Linked DNA regions of Homo sapiens: regions 1 and 3 are each linked to region 2. Evidence: promoter capture Hi-C in 16 types of primary human blood cells and fetal thymus (Javierre and others, 2016). All regions are on one chromosome and are shown on one strand. The core of a region is centred on a gene start or on the middle of the fragment in contact, and the rest is flanking DNA. Distances in the headings are between cores, read along the strand shown. Region 1 overlaps SWT1 (SWT1 RNA endoribonuclease homolog). Region 2 holds the start of RNF2 (ring finger protein 2). Region 3 overlaps NIBAN1 (niban apoptosis regulator 1).

Region 1 (2,739 bases), core at 4-2,503, 130 kb before region 2:
TTCAGTTTTCTGCCTAGTCACATTTAATGAAACCTGGGAGCTTTCCAGGTATTCTCTTTCTTCCTGCTTAGTCTTCGAATTATTAGAATCTATGTTGAAGACATTTTCTTCTACAAGTTTCTGGAGGGTGTCACGGGATTTTATAGGGATTTTGAAACTGATCTTCTGTCTTCTAGATCCCAAGGGTTCCTTAATTATCTTGTTGGAGTTATAATCCTGAGAAAATTGATTTCTCTTCCATTTCTCTAAGACACATTTTTCAGAATTGTCTCTAAATTTACTGTTTCTTCCTTTCTTGAGTTCTTTCATCTTCTCTCTCTGAACAAGTAAATGAGACCATTTATTTTCACTTGCCTGGCCTTCGGCTTTAGGTTTCACATCACTGGCAATCTTAGGACTACTAAGGCTTTTAATTCCATGGTCAAGCTTGCTCCCAGCATTTGTCAATTTGATATCTTTAGGTTTAAAGTCTACACATTTATGTATGTCTTTTTTAGTTCCATTTGAAGAAGGACTCTGCAAAATAATTTGATTATCATTTGAATATGATGCTTCTTTGAGTTTAATAGGTCTTTGGGATGAAGAACCGATTTTTGGTCTCCTTCTGAGAGTGTCAATTTCTACACTCAATCTGTAAAACAGCACAGAAACCTAGGTTACATTATAATTATACATAATGTTGCACTCTATCATTTTAGTTAGAATAACAGAATTGGGCTGACATTAAGCTTCATAAAAAGTAGAAATAGCTACATTAAGAATGAAGTGGAAAGGATTACTCACTTAATGGTGTTAGAATAATTAGTTTGCTATTTGGAAAAAAAAATTACAACTTTAAATAGTAACAAACAACATAAATTCCAAATGGACTAAATGCTTAAGTGTAAAATAATTATTATTATCATAATAATTTTGTGCTTCATATTAAACCCTTAAAAACCAGTGAGGAAAAACAGAACGTATGTGTGATTTCATTTTTTTTGAGACGGGTTCTCACTCTGTTGCCTAGGCTAGAGTGCAGTGATGCAAACATGGCTCACTGCAGCTTCAACCTCCCAGGCTCAGGAAATCCTTCTACCTCCCAGACTACCACGTAACTGGGACTACAGGAGCATGCCACAATGCCTAGCTAATTTTTGTAATTTTTTTGTAGTGACAAGGTTTTGCTATGTTGCCCAGGCTGGTCTCAAACTCCTGGGCTCAAGCAATCCACTTGCCTCGGCCTCCCAAGGTGCTGGGATTACAGGTGTGAGCCACTGTACCCCGGCCTATCCGATTTCTCTTTTTCTTTTTTTGAGACAGCGCCTCACTTTGTCACCAGGCTGGAGTGCAGTGGCGCGATCTTGGCTCACTCCAAACTCAACATATCAGGCTCAAGAGATCCTCCTGCCTCAGCCTCCTGAGTAGCTGGCACTACAGATGCACACTACCACATCTGGCTAATTTTTGTATTTTTTTTTTTTTTTTTTTTTGGTAGAGACAGGGTTTCACCATGTTGCCCAGGCTGGTCGAACTCCTGGGCTCAAGCAATCTGCCCACCTTAGCCTCCCCAGTGTGCTGAGGCTACAGGCATGAGCCACTACGCCCAACCTGATTTCTTAATAGAGAACTTCCCAAACTTAAAAACAGTGGGAGAAATAACAAAGGATAACACTGATAATATGTGACTATTTACTTTAAAACTTTAGCGTATTAAAAATTAATAAAAATTTAAAGAACTAGGAAATGGTATTTGTTAGATGTACTAACTTCTAGCAAAATAATGTTAATAAGCTTACTAGCCTTAGTAGATAAAAAGCTCACCAAAAACTACTAAGATTCTAGAATAGGGCATAAACAGAAAATTAATAAAAGAAAACAGCTAATAAACATTTTTAAAAAGTTTGACTTCTCTAGCAATCACAGACATGCTAATAATAACAATAACATACCATTTTCTTCTTTTTTTTTTTTTTTTTTTGAGACGGAGTCTCGCTTTGTCGCCAGGCTGGACTGCAGTGGTGCAATCTTGGCTCACCACAACCTCCGCCTCCCAGGTTCAAGCGATTCCCCTGCCTCAGCCTCCCAAGTAGCTGGGACTACAGGCACACACCACCACGCCCGGCTAGTTTTTTGTATTTTAGTAGAGACGGGGTTTCATCATGTTGGCCAGGATGGTCTCGATTTGACCTCGTGATCTGCCCACCTCGGCCTCCCAAAGTGCTGGGATTACAGGTGTGAGCCACCGCAGCTGGCCCATACCATTTTCTTCTATCAAATTAGCAAAGATTTTACAATAACATCAAATACTCGCAAGGGGTTGTAAAATGGACACTCTCACATGTTGCTGGTAGAAATGTAAAACAACATAACAGTCCCACAAAGAAATGTGAATATAAATTAAAAACTCTAAAAATGGTCATTTTTTTACATCTGAAATTCTCATTTTAGAAACCATACCAAGGTGAAGAAAATCACACATGAAAAAAATATTAAAAGATATTTAATTCAGGATTACTTATAATAGCAAAACAATCAGGTACAAAGTAACTGCTAAAATTTTGGAAATGACTTTAAAAAGTGACATATTCATATGACGGAATATCACAGTTTTTTAAAAGGATGTTTATGAAAAGTCTTCAGTGACATAAAACATATTGAAAATCAAAAACAAGCAGGATACAAATCTGTACATATAATATGGTCTCAACATCTTAAACAAGCATAGTAAAAAGGCCAGAAAGGTGCTAAAATGTTAGA
Region 2 (2,700 bases), core at 187-2,686:
GGAATAACCAAGAGTCATATTGCTGCTATTTAAATACTTTATAAATCCAAGGATCAAATTTCACTATAAGAAGCAAACTCTCACACCCACCTCAGTTATTAGAATATTCAACAACTGCACTTAATACAAAACAGATAGATTAGCTACCAATTAGACTAAGTATTCCAGCTGATCATCTTGGAATTACCAAAAGTAGATTATGTAATGCAAATCGCTCGTACATTCGTTTTAAACATATCCTCGGTTTAGAACACTGAAACCATGCCTTAATTTTTTTAATTGAAAAACAGCGTATTACTAAAATACTGAGTGCATATGTATATCCTTTTCACGGCACTTCAAAGAAACCTGACATCTTCAAATCATTTTACAATGTAAAGTTACATTCTCTAAAACTTCCGACAGCCTCGAAAAAGATACCCAAAGGGGCTTCAAATAGATGAGTCTATAATTGATCTTAGCGGGCAAATAACTGGAATGAACCTCAAAGTTTGAGATCAATTTTTACTAACACCATCTCTGAAAGCAAGAAGGAGACTTCTGTAGAAGGTAAACGATTCTGACCAGCAGGACGTGGGCTCCCGGCAAAAGTGGGTACTAGCATCTCAGCGTAAACGACACGGTTCAAAACGCGAATCTTCCCGCAGAAACTAACCAAGACACCCCCTCCCCCCACGACTCCTCCTGGGTAAGCTCACGGTTTTAGAAAGCAGCAACAGATACTCCAGAGCAGGAGGCGGCACTCCAGGAATGTGTGAAGCTGAAGGGGTCTCCCCGAGGAACCCCGAGGTCGAGGAGCTCCTCTACACTGGAACCCCGACTCCGACCCCCCAGAAGGAAGGAGCGATATCTGCACAAAGTGCCCCCTACCCCACCCCCACGATGCAGACACACATCCCTAGCTGCGAGGCGAAAGCCCAGAGAAAAAACTCGCATTCCACTCCGTCCGCCTCCGGAGTAGGGCTGCAGAGAGGCTGGGGCCCCCGCCCCCGGAGGCGAGGGGACCGCGCCGCAGCGCCGGCCTCCGCGCAGAGGAAAGGGCAGCGAAAGGCTCGCGGCGAAGGAAGGAATCCCGGCGCTTCGCTGACTGGGTCCTCCGCAAACCAGCTCCCTTCCCTCCCACGACCCTCGAAGACACGGGAACAATGAGAACCCGCTTCACCCGCCGTCTCCGCCGCGAGAGCGGCCGGGGGCGGCGGCGGCGCCATGTCCCTTCACACCCCCGCGGACACACACCCCCCCCACACTCCGGGGCCCCCGTCAGTCGCCTGCAACGCTGCCGAGTAGACGCGTGTCCCGGCCCGCTGCTTCCGCGTCCTTCGCCTCCCCGCCCGCCCCACTCACCGGCTCCTGCCCCAGCCCAGGGCTCCGCTGGCCGCGGCCGGAGCAAGACTCTGGTATCAGCTGCCGCGGACGCCGGCGCCGCCGCACAATATGGCGAGCCTCAGCTTCCGCAATGGAGCTCGGGAAATACAACAGGGGCCGCTCAATATTCATGAGAGACTGAGGGGAAGCCGGCTCGGCCGGCGCTGCGGGGAGGGCGGGAAGGAGCGAGCGAGCGAGGGGCGGAGGCGCGGGACGAGGACGTGCACGGCGCGGGGAGGCCCGCGGCGCGAGGGAGGGTGCGCCGCCGCGTGTTGGCCTGGAGAACCCGCGCCACCGCCCCGCCCTGGGCTGGCCGGCCACGCCCCCCCGGCGCCCACCGCGGTCCGACGTAGCCCCCGGGCAACGCCCGGATGACGGCGCAGCCACCTCGTGCTCAACCTTCTGCTTGGGTTCTTCTGCCCTGGCTTCGGCCCACCCTTTACACCTTCCTGGCCGGCTTCTGGGGTTTGGGCTCAGACTTCTTTCTCATGAGTTCGTCCTCTTAAACCTGTCCCACCCGGCGGAAATCCTCATCAGGCTTTGGTTTGCAGAACTTCACATGAACTTCGGCACCCTTCCGCTCTCGTACAACAAACATACACTTTTCATCCTTGCAGGATAAAACTGCAAGTGTAATTGCTCCTGGGAAAATGACCTTCCACTCTAAACTTAGCTTAACATTCTGATTGTGGTCATCAGCTCTTACTATTTACCTTGCTGCTGCTTTATTCCTACCTCCTTGGCCCCTTCCAGTGTTACCTTCTGAACTTGAGGATTTACGAAGTAATAGATTAATAGATGTAATCATTACCTAAAACACAGCCAGTTAGTCTCCAGTAAATTATCCGACATTTAATGCATATAAATTATGAGCTGAAGAAGTAACGAAGAATTGAAAGTTCCCTGATCTCTATATGTACTATTGTTGAGATGTCATGTTCTCTTGAGAAGATAACCAGCAATACCAGACCGTAAATCTGAAGGCATAGAGGCATAAACCAATGGACTGCAGTGGGAATTGGGCAAACTAGGTTCATAGCCTCCAATGTGTGTCTATGTGACTTACGTAGATTGCGTAGCTCCTCTGCACTTCATTTTCTTCGTCTGCGAGATGAGAGAATTGTATTGAATCCTAGGTCCTTTCCAGTTCTTTAACGCTCTGAAACTCTCTATAAGCAATTCCAAATAAATGACATGAATTTACATAGGAATTTGGAAAAGAAAAATATCAATTCCAGCTGGTGTGTTTGGGGATGATTTCCTGAGGAGCCGGGATTTAAGATGGCCTTTGACGCCTTGGATGGGTGGAAAGAAAAAGGACAGGTGTTAAATACA
Region 3 (2,700 bases), core at 15-2,514, 230 kb after region 2:
AGCAGTTGACATCCTGTAGTGCCAAAACCGTTCCTAGCCAAAAGGGACTTTACTGAGAGCCCTCATTTTAAAAATGTACTTCAATGCAGCCGGGCGCAGTGGCTCAGGCCTGTAATCCTGGCACTTTGGGAGGCCGAGGCGGGCGGATCGTGAGGTCGGGAAATCGAGACCATCCTGGCTAACATGGTGAAACCCTGTCTCTACTAAAAATACCAAAAATTAGCCGGGCGTGGTGGCGGGGTGCCTGTAGTCCCAGCTGAGGCAAGAGAATGGCATGAACCCAGGAGGTGGAACTTTCAGTGAGCCAAGATCGCGCCTGCACTCTAGTTGGGAGACAGAGTGAGACTCCGTCTCAAAAAAAAAAACAAAAAAAAAAAGGAAGAAAGTACCTCAATGCATTGTTGTTCTTTCGGAACATTCCACTGTAAATTATCTTCAGTAAGATTTTGCTGTTTCTGTAAGACTTCACTGCCTCCCAGGCCTAATGTATAAGCCAGAAGGAACTCAGTTTTCCAGAAATTAAGGAGCCCATTTTAACCTAAAATATTGGCTTTACTCCCAGGTTCTCTTAACTTAGCCAATGATTTTTCCTACCTAAGCACACAAGAAAAATGAAAAAAGGGGTAGAACACAGAAATCCCTGTGAATTTTCAAAAGCCAAATTTTATAACCCCTGCAATATTACTGCTTACTACCAGTTCCTTTCTGACCCAGTCAGATATACGAGGCCTCTGACTGGGTCCAAGCCAGTTAATTCCTGGATCAAATCTGTTCCTGGACCCAGTCCAGTTTCTGTCATGACTACAAACCCAGTTTGGATCAGAAACTTGCTCGAAGAAACTCAGAGAGCTCAAAACACAAATCTATGGAGCTTCAAATTCCGAGAGGGAGCTTACCGCGATCCCCAGCCGCTCTGAGAGATCAATGGACACAGGTGGGACCTGCAGGTACCTTGTGTGTTCACTCAGCGCTCCTGGGAGTCACTAGAAGCTCCACTTCGGATCCTGCTTCTGACACCATCTGATAAAAGAAAAACTTCAGCCAAATTAAATTTAAAGGAGTTTACCTGAGCAATGAATGATTCGCAAATCGGGCAGTCCCTAGAATCACAGCAGATTCACAAATTCTCCGGGGGTGCCTCACAGTCAGAATAAATTTACAGACAAAAAAGGTAAGGTGACGTACAGGAATCAGAAGTGAGGAACAGAAATAGTGAGACTGGTTACAACTCAGCATTTGCCTTATTTGAACATTTAGCAGTCTATGAGTAGTTGAAGTATGGCTGCTGGGACTGGTCAACACTCAGTTATTGTTACAGGTGCATACTACTAAGTTAGGTTTTCAATTTTATCTGACTCTTACAGTTCATCCACAAGGACTAAAATATGGAAGTATGGAGTCCTTCTCAGGCTGTATTTAGTTTGCTTTAACAGATCAATATTTCTGAAAGTATGGTCCCCAGACCAGCAGTGTCATCATCACCTGGTTGTTAAAAATGCAAATTCTCGGGCCCCACCAATGATCTACTAAATCAGAAAATCTAGGGGTAGTGCCCAGGAGTCTGTTTTAACAAGACCTCCAGAGGTTCTGGTGTACCCTACAGTTTAAGAATCACTGAAAAAGATATAAATTGGCAGCTTGGTTTTATACTTGACATATCATGATGAACATCCTTACAAGTCAGTAGATAAAACCAGATGTCTCTATTTCTTTTCCTTTATTCTTTATGCATATATACACATATATAATTGTGCATTAACAGGATCATTTTAGAAATGTTTTGGGGTTTCTTATTGCAGCCTGTTTTGTTTTACTTGTCTTCACTCTTCCCCTTCCCCAATGCCACCTCCTCCCCTCAAGCAACTCGTGTTAACAACTTAGCATATGCCATTCTGTATTTTCCCCATTCTTATCTAGCACATAAAACACACCCTTAGAGGCTAGACTTTAGATTGTCTGCTTTAAGAAAAATGGGATTATATTTTATACATTACTCTGCTTATCAGTTTCTCTTCCAAAAATACCCCATGAAACTGTTTCCAAGGTAACTGTTTTAGCTCTAAATCTTTCTTTGTAATGGCTGCATGATGTTTCATGTATGGATACACCATGATTTATTCATTCATCTCAATATTGCTGGCATTATGAATAAAGCATAATAAATTAATATTTTTATGTATACACATATATATGTATATATATATACACACACACATATATATGTGTATATATATATACACACACACATATATATGTGTATATATATATATACACACACATATACCCTGATGTATTTATTTCTATAGTATATTCTCCTAAGACAAGATAGCCAGGTTGAAAGTACATTTCTCATGTTAAAAAATGTTTCCATTGCATTTCAAAAAAAAGGATTTAAATTTTACATTTCCACTAATTGTGTATGATAAGGGCTTTCTCCCCCATACTGCTATCAGCTATAGGTGTTATCATTTGATTAAACTTTTGCCAATCTGATAGGAGCAAAGTGGGAACCCATTTTTCCTCTTCTGTCTGCTTAATTGATATTTTTTAAAAATAGACACATTCCATTTGGTGAGGAGCTGCAAGTTCCACAGCATGCTTTTGATCCTTACTTCACTTCAGTGGACCTCTCCATAACTCACTTCATAAAGGGAGCAGTATTTTCCCTTTAAAGCATAATGAGAGTGGGCCCTCTTAAAA

What was found. The method cuts DNA at HindIII sites, captures the fragments that hold promoters and counts their contacts. A CHiCAGO score of 5 or more calls a contact.
Region 1: a contact is called between a fragment that was not itself captured here and the fragment with the promoter of RNF2 in region 2, in 3 of 17 cell types (megakaryocytes, erythroblasts and fetal thymus). The highest score is 8.3, in megakaryocytes.
Region 3: a fragment that was not itself captured here is called in contact with the fragment with the promoter of RNF2 in region 2 in 10 of 17 cell types (M2 macrophages, megakaryocytes, total CD8 T cells and 7 more); the score reaches 7.0 in M2 macrophages.

Annotation. Positions count from the first base shown.
Region 1 is chr1:185,172,264-185,175,002 of GRCh38, reverse strand. SWT1 (SWT1 RNA endoribonuclease homolog) reads right to left here. Exons shown (of 19, transcript NM_017673.7): 5 at 1-631. Among named protein-coding and RNA genes, the nearest start is that of SWT1, 16 kb to the right of the region's middle. The HindIII fragment of the contact is 1,045 bases long and covers 731-1,775 here.
Region 2 is chr1:185,044,294-185,046,993 of GRCh38, reverse strand. It overlaps RNF2 (ring finger protein 2), which reads right to left and starts at 1,436. Exons shown (of 7, transcript NM_007212.4): 1 at 1,345-1,436. RefSeq lists a silencer at 1,547-1,806. The HindIII fragment of the contact is 4,610 bases long and covers 1-2,700 here.
Region 3 is chr1:184,809,179-184,811,878 of GRCh38, reverse strand. All of the region lies in intron 9 of NIBAN1 (niban apoptosis regulator 1), which reads left to right. It also overlaps a transcript of LOC107985238 not described here. Among named protein-coding and RNA genes, the nearest start is that of EDEM3, 56 kb to the right of the region's middle. The HindIII fragment of the contact is 3,316 bases long and covers 1-2,700 here.